5 separate regions of the Homo sapiens genome follow, and regions 1, 2, 4 and 5 are each linked to region 3. Evidence: promoter capture Hi-C in 16 types of primary human blood cells and fetal thymus (Javierre and others, 2016). All regions are on one chromosome and are shown on one strand. Each heading gives the region's core, a stretch centred on a gene start or on the middle of the fragment in contact. The rest is flanking DNA. Distances are from core to core; before and after follow the strand shown.

Evidence for each region. The method cuts DNA at HindIII sites, captures the fragments that hold promoters and counts their contacts. A CHiCAGO score of 5 or more calls a contact.
Region 1: a fragment that was not itself captured here is called in contact with the fragment with the promoter of RCOR1 in region 3 in 1 of 17 cell types (total B cells); the score reaches 5.1 in total B cells.
Region 2: a fragment that was not itself captured here is called in contact with the fragment with the promoter of RCOR1 in region 3 in 1 of 17 cell types (endothelial precursors); the score reaches 5.2 in endothelial precursors.
Region 4: a contact is called between a fragment that was not itself captured here and the fragment with the promoter of RCOR1 in region 3, in 2 of 17 cell types (endothelial precursors and M0 macrophages). The highest score is 6.1, in endothelial precursors.
Region 5: a contact is called between the fragment with the promoter of ZNF839 here and the fragment with the promoter of RCOR1 in region 3, in 9 of 17 cell types (neutrophils, naive CD8 T cells, fetal thymus and 6 more). The highest score is 8.8, in neutrophils.

What each region holds. Positions count from the first base shown.
Region 1 is chr14:103,092,084-103,094,783 of GRCh38, forward strand. EXOC3L4 (exocyst complex component 3 like 4) reads left to right here and starts at 2,642. Exons shown (of 12, transcript NM_001077594.2): 1 at 2,642-2,700. RefSeq lists enhancers at 1-37, 1,511-2,080, 2,651-2,700. The HindIII fragment of the contact is 5,265 bases long and covers 1-2,700 here.
Region 2 is chr14:102,852,253-102,854,952 of GRCh38, forward strand. The region is part of intron 2 of TRAF3 (TNF receptor associated factor 3); the gene reads left to right. Among named protein-coding and RNA genes, the nearest start is that of AMN, 69 kb to the right of the region's middle. The HindIII fragment of the contact is 7,690 bases long and covers 1-2,700 here.
Region 3 is chr14:102,591,199-102,593,898 of GRCh38, forward strand. It overlaps RCOR1 (REST corepressor 1), which reads left to right and starts at 1,451. Exons shown (of 12, transcript NM_015156.4): 1 at 1,451-1,989; 2 at 2,068-2,127. The coding sequence starts at 1,689. RefSeq lists an enhancer at 54-869 and silencers at 448-1,757, 1,818-2,427. The HindIII fragment of the contact is 8,428 bases long and covers 1-2,700 here.
Region 4 is chr14:102,874,660-102,877,359 of GRCh38, forward strand. TRAF3 (TNF receptor associated factor 3) reads left to right here. Exons shown (of 12, transcript NM_145725.3): 5 at 965-1,069; 6 at 1,699-1,866. Among named protein-coding and RNA genes, the nearest start is that of AMN, 47 kb to the right of the region's middle. The HindIII fragment of the contact is 4,234 bases long and covers 1-2,700 here.
Region 5 is chr14:102,318,372-102,321,071 of GRCh38, forward strand. ZNF839 (zinc finger protein 839) reads left to right here and starts at 1,375. Exons shown (of 8, transcript NM_018335.6): 1 at 1,375-1,682. The coding sequence starts at 1,395. RefSeq lists silencers at 1,435-1,534, 1,595-1,784 and an enhancer at 1,885-1,994. The HindIII fragment of the contact is 5,518 bases long and covers 1-2,700 here.

The DNA of each region.
Region 1 (2,700 bases), core at 69-2,568, 500 kb after region 3:
AGATTGAGGTGCCTCTCCAAGGTCGTGGGGAGCTGGGCTTGCCCTCTGGTGGGTGTCCCTGGCTAGGCCTCTCCCTCCTAACGGCTCCCCACCCGGCCTTCTCCTGACCCCAGACCAACCTCGTGACCCAGGCTTCTTTGAGATAAGGCTGGGGTTTTTCCAAAGGGATTTTACTGAGAAACTTCGGGAAAACATGGACATAGCATGAAAGAAACATTGCAACCTCATGCTGAAAAGCGGGCACAGGCTCAGGTGCCTGTGGAGAGCAGATGGGAGTTGAGGGGACTTCCAGGAGCAGTCCCCAGGCCCTGGGCACCACCAGCTTTTCAGGCACCTGTGTATTGAATGGAGCGACCCATAATTGGAGGTCCCAGGACCCCAACATGCCCTGGGAGCTGGGGGGCGGGTGGGAGAATTAGACCGGGAAGTCTCCAGTCCACCAAGGCCTGGCTGTATGGGAAGACCCAGTCCACAGAGCCAGAGACCTAGGTCGCAGTCCTGGCCTCTCTGGGCACCTGTGTGGCCGAGAGCAGGTCACTGAGCCCTGGGGAGCCAGCCACCTTGGACCCCGGCTGTCTCTGCTCAGTTTTGCTTATTCCCTGTTACCCCTCATCTCTGCCTGTTGGAGACAGGTGGGGTGGGACTCAGGCCAGCAGGTGGGACTGGGCTGGGAGGAAGGGCCTATGGGCTGCTGGGCACCTCTCGGGCTTGAAGTGGGACTCTTAGCACCCCACTTCACAGAGGGAACCCAGGGCTCAGGGTAGTGACTCAAGTGGTTAATTGGAGGGCTTCCTGGAGGAGGTGCTGGCATCTTTGAGTCTAATTTGGCCCCTCTGCAGATGGTGCTGCAGCATCTCAGGCACCTTCCAGTCTGTTATGGGCTGCTTTTCCCCCATAAAATTCGTATGTTGGGCTGGGCGCGGTGGCTCACGCCTGTAATCCCAGCACTTTGGGAGGCCTAGGCAGTCCAATCACCTGAGGTCAGGAGTTCAAGACCAGCCTGGCCAACATGGTGAAACCCCGACTCTACTAAAAATACAAAAATTAGCCGGGTGTGGTGGTGCGTGCCTGTAATCACAGCTACTCAGGAGGCTGAGGCAGGAGAATCACTTGAATCCAGGAGAATCACTTGAATCCAGGAGGCAGAGGTTGCAGTGAGCTGAGATCGCGCCACTGTACTTCAGCCTGGGTGACAGAGAGAGACTCCGTCTCCAAAAAAAAAAAAAATTCGTATGTTGAAGTCCCAATCTTAGAATGTGACCTTATTTGGAAAATTCCTTATAAAAACACGTGACCTTTAAAGAGGTAATAAGTTAAAATTAAGTCATTCGGGTGGACCCCAACCCATATGAAGAGGAAATATGGACACAGACACGAAGTGGGAAGGCCCTGTGTTGACCCAGGAAGAAGGGGGGGCGCTACCCACAGACCCAGAAAACAGCCCCAGGAGAAACCAGCCCCACACATGCCTTGACTGTGGGCCTCTGGCTTCCAGAACTGGGAGAGAATAAACGTCTGTTGTTGAGGCTCAGTCCCTGGTCCTGTCGTGGCAGCCCTAGGACACTGGATGCATGGGGCCGTCCCTGCCCTCAGCCCTAGGATGCTGGTGCACTGGCCTGTCTCTGCCCTCAGCCCTAGGACAGTGGGTGCATGGGGCCGTCCCTGCCCTCAGTCCTAGGATGCTGGTGCACCGGCCTGTCTCTGCCCTCAGCCCTAGGACACTGGGTGCATGGGGCCTTCCCTGCCCTCAGTCCTAGGATGCTGCTGCACGGGGCCACCTCTGCCCTCAGCCAGAGGATGCTGGTGCAGGAGGCTATTTCTGCCCACCTCAGCACCCTGCAGCAGCCCCATCACACACCCTGGTGGCCCCAGCCCAGGTTGGGACAGGCCTGGATCCGTTCTCCTTGGATTTTCCCTGAGTTGTTTCCTAAGACGCTCGCTGCGGAATCCCCCTATGCAGGGGTGAGGCTGCCTCTTCTGGGAAGTGTCAGTGGCCCTCCCTGCGGCACGTTGCCCGCCTGACCCCCTGGTGTGGGGAGTGGGGCCCCGCCTCCACATCTTTGCCCCTGCCCAGGATGCCGTCCCTTCTCACTTCTGAGTGTGTCCTGTCTGTCCCTAGGGCCCCATCCCTTTCTCTAGCTCCTGAAGCCCCCAGGAATGGCATGTGGCTCTCAACTGCTGCCTTTGCTGTCACCGTGAGCTTCCCTGACAGGCAGGGTGCAGGGGTCTCGGGATGAACTCGATGGACTGGCCCAGTGCTAGAGCCTCTGTCCTGGAGGGAGGGGTCCTTCTGGGCTCCGGCACTGTGGGCTGAGTGTCCCCCGAGGCCAGCGCCTGCTTCCGCTGGCCTCTGAGCAAAGGAGAGGTTGGTGGTGTTTTGGGTGGCAGGCAGCGTCCACCCCCTGCTGCCTCGAGACCCTGAGTGCCGAGCTCCGCAGCCTTCCCCTCCCTTGTTCTCTGACCCTTGGACTGAGCCCTGAGCTGTCTGGAATGGAAAGCTGGAGTGACTGCCTCCGGAACGAAAAGGAAGTGGGAACTTCTCTGAAAGTGAAAGTATGGGGTCCTGGTGGAGGGTAGGGCTGTGGGTGGGGCCGGGTGGGCCTGGCAGGCGCTGACCATGGCTGGGAAGTCCCAGCTGTTGGTCACTCGCTCAGGCTGCTCTAGAGGCCCCATAGCCAGGGCCCGGCTCTGAGGGCCCCA
Region 2 (2,700 bases), core at 152-2,651, 260 kb after region 3:
CCATGCCCGACAACCACCACAGATAATTTAGAAAAAATTAGCCTTTTAGTTTTAGGAGCTTTCTTTTACAGTGATATTTAGTTTGGGGCCTTTGAACTTGGTCTTTGCTTTTGGAGCTGTACTTGTAGGTGTTGTTGTTCCAGCCTGGGAACGAGACATGACCGACTCCAGTGCGGCCTGCTTGCTGTCCTCACCATCAGTCAGTGTGGTCCGTGTGTGAGGCTGCAGTTGTCCTCTTGGCCACTTATTTCTCCTTAATTCTCTGCATGTAATTTAAAACATTATCCCCTGAAACTTAGTTTTTCATTGACTTCTAATATCTTTACTTCTCCTTTTAATTTTCCTATTGAGATACTTAGGATGACATGAAATTCTTTGGATCTACATATGGACAAACAGAATTGTGTCACATAAGGTTCAGTGTGCTAGCTGTTTAAAAAAAATTAAAAACAGTTTGTTTTTTTTAGAGACAGAATCTTGCCCTGTCACCCAGGCTGGAGTGCAGTGGCGTGATCGTAGTTCACTGTAACCTTGAGCTCCTGGGCTTAAGCAGTTCTCCCGCCTCAGCCTCTTGAGTAGCTAGGACTCACAGGCATGTGTCACCATGCCAGGCTAATTTTTATTTTATTTTTATATTTTATTTTTATTATTATTTTTTTGAGACAGAGTCTCACTCTGTCGCCCAGGCTGGAGTGCAGCGGCACAATCTCGGCTTACTGCAACCTCCACCTCCTGGGTTCAAACGATTCTCATATTCTCCTGCCTCAGCCTCCTGAGTAGCTGGGACTGCAGGCTCACACCACCACGTCCGGCTAATTTTTGTATTTTTAGTAGAGACAGGGTTTTGCCATGTTGGCCAGGCTGGTCTTGAACTCCTGACCTCAGACGATCCTCCTGCCTTGCCTCCTAAAGTGCTGGGATTACAGGTGTGAGCCATTGCACCTGGCCTTTATTTTTTTTTAGAGGCTGACTGAGTTTTGCTGTGTTGCCAAGGCTGATCTCAAACTCCTGGTACTTCAAGCAGTCCTCTTGCCTTGACCTCCCAAAGTGCTGGGATTACAGGTGTGAGCTACCACGTCCTGCCTGCTAGCCATTTTTTTATGTTCGTGGTGGTGGTAAGGAGTGGCTACCAGGCTGTGCGGGATTCAGGAATCTGGATGTTCCCCCCACCACCGTTTTTTACCCCACGAAAAAAATTGTAAACACTTTCTAATTGAGATAAAATTTACAAAACAAAATTCACCACTTAAACCACTTAAAGTGTACAACTCAGTGGCTTTGTGTATATTCAGAATGTTACGGCCGGGCGTGGTGGCTCATGCCTGTAATCCCAGCACTTTAGGAGGCCGAGGCGGGCAGATCACCTGAGGTCAAGAGTTCGAGACCAGCCTCGCCAACATGGTGAAACCCCCATCTCTACTAAAAATACAAAAAAATTAGCTGGGCATGGTGGCACACTCCTGTAACCTCAGGCAATTGGGAGGCTGAGGCAGCAGAATTGCTTGGGCCCGGGAGGCGGAGGTTGCAGTGAGCCGAGATTGCGGCACTGTACTCTAGCCTGGGCGACAGAGGCAAGACTCCGTCTAAAAAAAAAAAAAAAAGAATGTTATGCAACCATCACTACTATCTAATTTCAGAATATTTCATCACCCCAAAAAGAAACCCCATACCACTAAGCAGGCACTCTCCATTCTTCGCTTGCCCCAGCCTCTGGCAACCACTAATCTACTTTCTGTATCTATGAATTTGCCTATTCTGGACATTTCATGTAATAGGAATCATACAATATGTGGCCTTTTGTTTCTGACTTCTATAACTTACATAATGTTTTCAGGGTCCATCCATGTTGTAGCATATATAGTACCTCATTTTTTTTTATGCCTAAGTAAGAGTTCATTGTATGAATAGACCACATTTTGTTTATCCATTTACCAGTTGACCATTTGAGCTGTTTCTACTTTTTTTTTCGCTATTGTGAATAGTGCTGCTGTGAACGTTTGTGAACAAGTTTTTGCGTGAACAGACTGGTTCTCTTGGTATATACATAGAGATGGAATTGTTGGGTCATACGGTAATTCTGTGTTTAACTTTTGGAGGAACTGCCAGATTGTTTCCACAAGGGCTGCACCATTTTACATTCCTGTCAACAATATGTGAAGATTCCCATTTCTCCATATCCTTGCTAACACTTGTGATTTTCTGTTTTTAAAATTTTAGCCATCCAAGTGACTAAGTGGTTATAGTAGGTTTTGGTTTTGGTTTTGAGACAGAGTCTTACTTTTGTGTTGCCCAGGCTGCAGTGCAGTAGTGCAAACATGGCTCACTGCAGCCTCACCTCCTGGGCTCAAGTGATTCCCACCTCAGCCCCCCAGATAGCTGGGACTACAGGTGTGCACCACCACACCCAGCTATTTTTTGTATTTTTTTGTAGAGATGGGGTTTTTTACTGTGTTGCCCAGGCATGTCTTGAACTACTGGCTTCAAGTGATCTGCCCACCTCAGCCTTTCAAAGTGCTGGGATTATAGGTGTCAGCTGCCGCACCTGGCTGTTTTTTTTTTTTTTTTTTTAACAATGTTTTAAAATAAATTGTGGTGAGATACACATAACATTAGCCATTTAAAAGTGAATGATTCAGTGGCATTTTGTACATTCACAGTGTTCTGCACCATGATCTCTATCTGGTTCCAACACATTTTTTT
Region 3 (2,700 bases), core at 201-2,700:
GGCAGAAGTGAACGTGGTCTCTTCAATAAAGTTAATAATGGTTCATGCTGCAGAAAATGTTCAAGACAAAACCCTGCTTATTTACTCAGGCTTTAAAACCATAAAACTCCCAAATTCTCCCTGTAGCTATTTATATCCAGAGCTAGTCCCCAAATTAAGCTCAGGTTTGAAGTAACTTAAAAGAAAAATAGCCTTCCCTGCTTTAAAAAGATTTTCCGTATAGACCTCCACTGGTCTAATTACGAAGGGCGCGTAGTTTCAGGGTTGGCTGGGGGTAGGGCACCGGGACCTCCAAGGCAGTTACACTCCTCAGCCTCCTAACAGCTGTACGGCTGCCCGGTGGTCCCTCTCCAAGGCAGCGGCTCTCAGGCTAGCCTCAGCCTACCCCACCCGCCCGCACCCCGTGTTCTCCCTCGTGGGGGTGCCGGGGGGAGTAGGGAGGCGGGGCGGGCGGCAGGTCCGGAAAAGTGGCTGCCCTCGCCCCGAAAGAAGTTGACCCTCCTCCCGTGCCGAGAGCTTGGGATGAAAATAGCTTCTTCCTCTTTACCCTTCCTGGACCCCCGCCCCAGGACGACTGGGCCCCTTCATTCATCTTTCAGCGGCCACCCAGGCGGCTTGGGCGTCCCCACGCCGGGACTCTGTGCCCCGGGGACCCACGGGGACCCTCCCTTGGGCCTCTGAAGCCGCGGCGCACCCCGCACCCAAGCCACCCCGGGGGCCCCGGCCTCCCCCACCCAATTAGCGGGCAGCACCGCAGACCCGAGTCCCCACGCAGCTCGCGCCAGGGGAGGCGGCCGCCTGGGAAGCCCGTCCCCCGCGCCGCGGCCCCCGCCCCCGCCAGCCCCGCGTCCCCTGGGAAAGGCGGGGGCGCAGCGAGTTTCCCCCAATTAGTTTCCTCTTTGTATGGAGTCTTAGCGCGCCCGTACTCCTCCGCGCAGCGGAAAGTAGTCCCGGCCGGGCGCTCCGCGGCTTCCCAGCGCCAGACACATTTTACTTTGAGAAGTCGACGGGACTCTCAGCGGGGTCCTTCAGATGGGGGGCCAGAGGCTGCGGGAGGCGTGCGCGGGCAGCAAGGGCAGGGGCCGCGGCCAAGGGTAGGGGGCGGGGAGGGCCGCGAACTCCTCGCCGCTGCCTGGAGAGATGGATCATGGGGCGTAGGGAGATGGCAAACCTCAAACCACGTACGGCGGGCGATACGCGTCAACCGAACCTCGCCAACGGAAGCCCGGAGCCGCCCCTCCCCGCTCCCCCGCCCCGCCGCCCCGGACGGACGGGCGCGCGGAGCCAACCCCGCTGCCGCTGGCTGTCCAAATCCCACCAGAGCCAATGGGAGCGCGAGGGGGGGCGGAGCCATCTCGCGTCAGTTGGGCTGCGCGCCCCCCTCCCCCGGCGCCCCTGCAGGCCCCGCCCCTGCCTCCTCCCCTCTCCGCTCGCTGCTCCCGGAGTAGTTGGTGCCAGTGAAGTGAGGGCGGCGATGAGAGCGAAAGTTGCGCTCGGCTCGTCGCTGGGGGCTTGAAGCGGCTCCGCGCTCTGCCCGTTTGGGCCTCCCCCGACTCGGACTCGCGCCCGTGGGCTCCCGCCGCGCCCGCCCGGCCCCGCGCCGGCCCCGCGCCCCCTCCCCCGTCTCGGCGCCCCCTCCTCAGGAGCCGCGGGTCCCCGCCACTTTCGCACGGCCCCGGCCCCCGCCGATGCCGGCCATGGTGGAGAAGGGCCCCGAGGTCTCAGGGAAGCGGAGAGGGAGGAACAACGCGGCCGCCTCCGCCTCCGCCGCCGCCGCCTCCGCCGCCGCCTCGGCCGCCTGCGCCTCGCCAGCCGCCACTGCCGCCTCGGGCGCCGCCGCCTCCTCAGCCTCGGCCGCCGCCGCCTCAGCCGCCGCCGCCCCCAATAATGGCCAGAATAAAAGTTTGGCGGCGGCGGCGCCCAATGGCAACAGCAGCAGCAACTCCTGGGAGGAAGGCAGCTCGGGCTCGTCCAGCGACGAGGAGCACGGTAGGTGGCAGCCGCCCCCGCGGCCCCGGGCCCCGCGCCCCGCGCCGCGCTGACCGCCGTATTCTGCTTCCCCCGCAGGTGGCGGTGGCATGAGGGTCGGACCCCAGTACCAGGCGGTGGTGCCCGACTTCGACCCCGGTGAGTAGCGGCCCCGGCCGGCCGGCGGCGGGGATGAGCGGGAGCCCCGGGTCCCCGGCGAGCCCGAGGGGGCGGGAGCCCGCCGACAACTTTCTTTTTGTGCGTTCGCCCTGCCGTCCGTGGGGAGAACAGCAGGGCGAGGACGAGGAGGCGCACACGCACACGAGTGTTCTGCAAACGTGCCTCTGCACCCGGGGGAGGCCAGGTCGCCCCCAGCAGGGCCGGCGCCGCTGCCCCCTTGCGCCTCCGAGGACTGCGGGTGGCGTCGGAGGTGGCCACACCTGGCCTGGGGGCGCTGGGGGTCCCTGCGTCCAGGTGAGCTGCGCCTCGGCCAGGGGTAAGGGTGGCAGTGCCGGAGAGTTAGTGTCCTGCGAGCGCCCCGGACTTAGGAGGTCCCCAGAGACCCCTTTCTCGGAACCCTTCCCAAAGGCTGCTCCCCACGCCTTTGCTCCTCCTCTCAGCCTCTGGGCTCTTGCTGGCTCCTGACTGCCCTCCCATCCAGAAGGCGAGTAGAAGAACGACCCCCCAAAACCAGTCAATAAAAGAAGTGTGTTTTCCAGAGGGCGCCTGCCT
Region 4 (2,700 bases), core at 1-2,500, 280 kb after region 3:
TTTTTAAAGAAATGGGGGTCTCCCACTGTCGCCCAGTCTGGAGTGCAGCAGTGCGATCATGGCTCACTGCATCCTCTACCTGCCAGGCTAAAGCAGTCCTCTTGCCTCAGCCTCCTGAGTAGCTGAGACTGCAGGCGCATATGCTGCCTTGCCCAGCTAATTTTTTAAAAAAATTTTTGTAGAGATAGGGTCTCATTGTGTTGCCTAGGCTGGTCTCAAACTCCTGGACTCAAGCAATCCTCCTGCCTCGGTTTCCCAAAGTGCTGGGATTTTAGGCTTCAGCTACCACGCCCAGCCTCGTTTTCATTTTCAAAGGGAAATCTTTTCATTATTAGACTAACTTCAGACTGCAATATATGTTTAAAGAGAGTGTTTTTCAACCACAGGCTAATGCTGCTTTTTTTGGTGAAAAATGAGTTTTAACAGCATGACCTTTAGAAGGAACCAACAGTTTTACAAATCATTCCCCAAATATGGTCTCTTATGTGGTCTCTCCATTTCTCCAGCAAGCGATCTATACAATGTATTCAGTTGTGTCCAGTTCTGCTCTTGTCCTCTGGTGACAGCTGCACCATAATGGCCACCTGCTCCGTGCTGGCTCCCGGAAGGCCCCAGAGTCTGAATGTGAACCTGGTCCTCCTCTGCCCTCATCCTGAAATTATGTCAAAGTTAATAGAAGATGTTTAGATGCTCCAGAGTGATCGTTAATTATCAAGTCTAATTCATTTTCTTTTGGCTTAACTAATAAAAGATAACAGTTAATGTTATTTAAATTGTGTCTCTTAGTGGGGGCAGCTTCTTCATTCTACTTCTAGAAATCAAGATGGTCCTTAATGCTTTCTGAAGTTCACTTAAGAGTTCCTCTCTTGTTTTTTTTTTTTAAGTGGTTTTGCCTTGTCCAAAGTAGCAGCATGTGGAGATTAAGAAATATTAATCCTCCAAAATAATGATCTTTCATTTTCAGGTGTTTAAGGATAATTGCTGCAAGAGAGAAATTCTGGCTCTTCAGATCTATTGTCGGAATGAAAGCAGAGGTTGTGCAGAGCAGTTAATGCTGGGACATCTGCTGGTGAGTAGCAAAGGGACACTGGAACCTTTTACATGAAGGAATTCGAGTCCCTTACATCCAGCTGATGAAGTGGTCAGTAGGATGTGGCACTTTAAGACCATGTTGACATTAGTTTTTCAAAACACAGCCAAATAGGAAAGCAGTCAGAACCACTTGAGTATAAGTTGTTATTTTTATGACATCATTGGCAGAATTGTCAACTGGTTTTTAAACACTCCCCCCCCTACTTAGAATAGAGAAAATCTGAATTGGATTTTAATTTTGGAAGGCCCATTAAAACCTTTTTTCACCATGAAATTCTACATAACTTCTTATTTTTTTAGTTAGTACCATATTTTAGCTTAGAAAATTATTTGAACTGGAATAAAACAAAGTTCTTAGCAGATATTCATTTATCCTGGAAGCAGAGTTGACTTAATTCTTCAACAACAATATGGTTTGAGTAATCATGAAATAGAATATGAAATTCAGTGTCTCTTGGCATACTTGTTACTCTTTGCTGTGGAAAACTGGTCTAACAGCAGATGAGAAACATTTCTTTAGGGTTTCATTGCATAGAGATTAGAATCTGGTATTTCAGATTTAGGGTTTTTTTCCCAATTAAGAACATTGAATGGTCTGTCTTACAGGTGCATTTAAAAAATGATTGCCATTTTGAAGAACTTCCATGTGTGCGTCCTGACTGCAAAGAAAAGGTCTTGAGGAAAGACCTGCGAGACCACGTGGAGAAGGCGTGTAAATACCGGGAAGCCACATGCAGCCACTGCAAGAGTCAGGTTCCGATGATCGCGCTGCAGGTGCGGGTCCTCCCATTCCACAGGCCTTCCACTCAATTCCTATATGATACATTCCACAGGCCTTCCGCTCAATTCGTAGATAATCCGTTCCACAGGCCTTCCCTCAACTCATAGATAATCCGTTCCACAGGCCTTCCACTCAGTTCATAGATATTCCGTTCCACAGGCCTTCCGCTCAATTCATAGATAATCCGTTCCACAGGCCTTCCCTCAACTCATAGATAATCCGTTCCACAGGCCTTCCGCTCAGCTCACAGATAATCCGTTCCACAAGCCTTCCGCTCAATTCGTAGATAATCCATTCCACAGGCCTTCCGCTCAGTTCATAGATAATCCGTTCCACAGGACTTCTGCTCAGTTCGTAGATAATCCGTTCCACAGGCCTTCCCTCAACTCATAGATAATCTGTTCCACAGTCCTTCCGCTCAATTCATAGATAATCCGTTCCACAGGCCTTCCCTCAACTCATAGATAATCCATTCCACAGGCCTTCCACTCAATTCATAGATAATCCGTTCCACAGGCCTTAGGCTCAATTCATAGATAATCCGTTCCACAGACCTTGTGCTCGATTCATAGATAATCTGTTCCACAGGCCTTCCCTCAACTCATAGATAATCCGTTCCACAGGCCTTCCGCTCATCTCGTAGATAATCCGTTCCACAGGCCTTCCGCTCAGCTCATAGATAATCCGTTCCACAGGCCCTCCCCCAACTCATAGATAATCCATTCCACAGGCCTTCCGCTCAGCTCATAGATAATCCATTCCACAGGCCTTCCGCTCAGCTCATAGATAATCTGTTCCACAGGCCTTCTGCTCAGTTTGTAGATAAT
Region 5 (2,700 bases), core at 125-2,624, 270 kb before region 3:
CCTGTAATCTCAGCACTTGGGAAGGCCGAGGCGGGCGGATCACCTAAGGTCAGGGTTTCAAGACCAGCCTTACCAACATGATGAAACCCCGTCTCTACTAAAAATACAAAAATTAGCCAGGCATGGTGGCGGACGCCTGTAATCCCAGCTACTCAAGAGGCTGAGGCAGGAGAACCGCATGAACCCAGGCGATGGAGGTTGCGGTGAGCTGAGATTGTGCCACTGCACTCCAGCCTGGGTGACAGAGTGAGATCTTGTCTCAAAAAAAAAAAAAAATTGTGGTAAGATACCCATAATATAAAATTCACCATTAAAAAATAACACGGAAGGGATCATCGTGAATGCAATGTGAGTATTGATGAGGATGGTGGTGATCTTCCAGAACCTTCTCTGACGCCACCCAGGCCGCCAGCCTTACTTTACCGGCTTCGGCGCTCATCATACTGTGCTGCAAATGCCAGTTTCCTCCTTCCCCCTTGGGAAGTTTCCTCCTTGGGGGTCGGCACCTAGACTGTATACCCCCCAGGGCGGAAACAGCGGTTCACCCACCAGGTGCTTAAGAAGGGTTTGTGGACCAGTGGACCTCCTGCTCTCCCTGGGGAAAGGAGCTGGGACATGTGTACACACCTGCAGCTACAAGATTCGGAGGGCGCACAGAGCCTCAACCGTAAGAAGGAGAGGCGATCAGGCTGAGGAAGATGGGGCAGTGGAGCTGGATGGATAGAGAGAGGGTGGGTTCATTCATTCGTTCACTCATTCGTTTATTCATATTCATCCATCCATCATTCATGCCCTGAGCGTGCGTTGTGTTCTGGGCAGGGCCTGTGCTGGGCACCGATTGTGTAATATATCATCTCTCCCTTCAAGGTGCACCCAATCTGGGTGGGTGGGTAGAGAGAAGCTACGGTGACAAGGCAAAAATTTGGGAAACACTCTCGTTAACAATTCAAACTGTGGTCCCCTCCCAGATGTATAAATCCAAATGTTTAGGGGTGGGCACAGTACTCTGCATCTCCAGACAGCATCCTCCGCTGATTCGGATGCATGATGACGTCAGAACACTTGGATATTGTGGTAACTTTTGGGCCAGGGGCTCTGAAACCCCGAAGACCTCCCCCTGGGAGATCCGGGACAGCTCCCAGAGAAGGTGAGTCTTAAACACATCCGTGACAGGCAATAAGGAAAATAAGGGGGGTCCGCTCTGCTGATCAGCCCTAAGAGCCGCGGCGGTTGTCGGCTGGGGCGGGGCACTCCACGACTTTCCCGGCCAGACACGGTCGCCTTCCTAGGTGTCTTGGCCTGCGAGGCACTCGTAGCCCGCCCCTCTCCTAGGTGACGTACATTGGAGACGCCGTCGCTCAGCGACCCGGGTTCGAGTCCCCGCCTCGGCCGCCATGGCGGATGCGGAGCCGGAGGCTGGGGGCGGCAGCGAGGATGGCGGCGGCGGCGGCGGCCCGGCTCCTCCGGGCCAGAGCGGCAGCGTCGCACGTGTGGCCCCGCTGGGCCCCGAGCAGCTGCGGCAGGTCCTGGAGCAGGTGACGAAGGCGCAGCCGCCGCCGCCGCCGCCCCCCTTCGTGCTGCGGGACGCGGCGCGGCGGCTGCGGGACGCGGCCCAACAGGCCGCCCTGCAGCGGGGCCGGGGCACCGAGCCCCCGCGCCTGCCGCGCCTGCTCCCGCCCCAGGTGAGGCGTCGGGAGGGACGTGGGGAAACTGAGGCCCGAAGGGGGCCGACGCCCCGCGGCGGGGTAGCTGCTTGTCCGGGGAGGCCAGTATCCGCCCGGGTTAAGACTCAGGGCGTCCCCAGGCTGAGCTTCTTAGGGACGGCGTTCGGCCCCCACCTGTCACCACCCTGGCATTTTCACCCCAGGAGCCTCACTCTAGGAGCGGTTGCTCACGCTGGGCCCTGTGCCTGGAACGCCCTCGTGCCTTCTCTGCCTTCACAGCCCTGCTGGGGGCTTTTGCGTGCTCCCTAGCTCTTCTTACAGGCCTTTCACCGCTGGTTCAGCCTTTGTGGAGCACTTAGAGACCGTGTTCCCAGCACTCCCCACTATGTGCAGGAGGTGAAGCCTTGAACACACTTGCTGAAGAACGAACATAAGGCAGGTTCTGGGATTGACGGGGGCTGCTTTAGAGTGGGTGGTCCCGTAGGCCAGACACTGGAGCTGAAACATAAATGAATTAAAAGGAACCAACTTAGCTTTTCAGTTGTAAGGTGCCAAGGCCCAGGCTTGGAACAAAGTCAAGCACAATACACTAGTTCGCTGCAGGACTTAACATCCTGGGTGATAGTGACTGATTTGTAACCGCAGTACCCAGCACAGTGCCTGATACACAATGTTTGGAATATGTGAAAGCACTCTGTATACTACAAAACATCCTTTCCCAGTGGGTTTATTTCCTGGGCCACACACCTTTTGGTTGCTAGGGGGGTGATAACTAGAAGACGGTCGCCCAACTCCGGAGGGTGAAGCATAGCGCCTGAAGCCAGAGGGCCTACACGGCATCTGTAAAATTCCACCCCATTTCAGCGCTGGGGTTGTAAACAAAATTAGTCTCACCCCAAAATTGCCAAAAGAAGACAGCTTTTTCCACTAGAAGAAACGGGTTAGGGAATAGAATCAGGAACCTTCACTCGTTGAGTTTTTTTGACTGATGTTAGCTGCTTAGGGTTGTATCCAGTTAATCATCAAGACTGGAGAG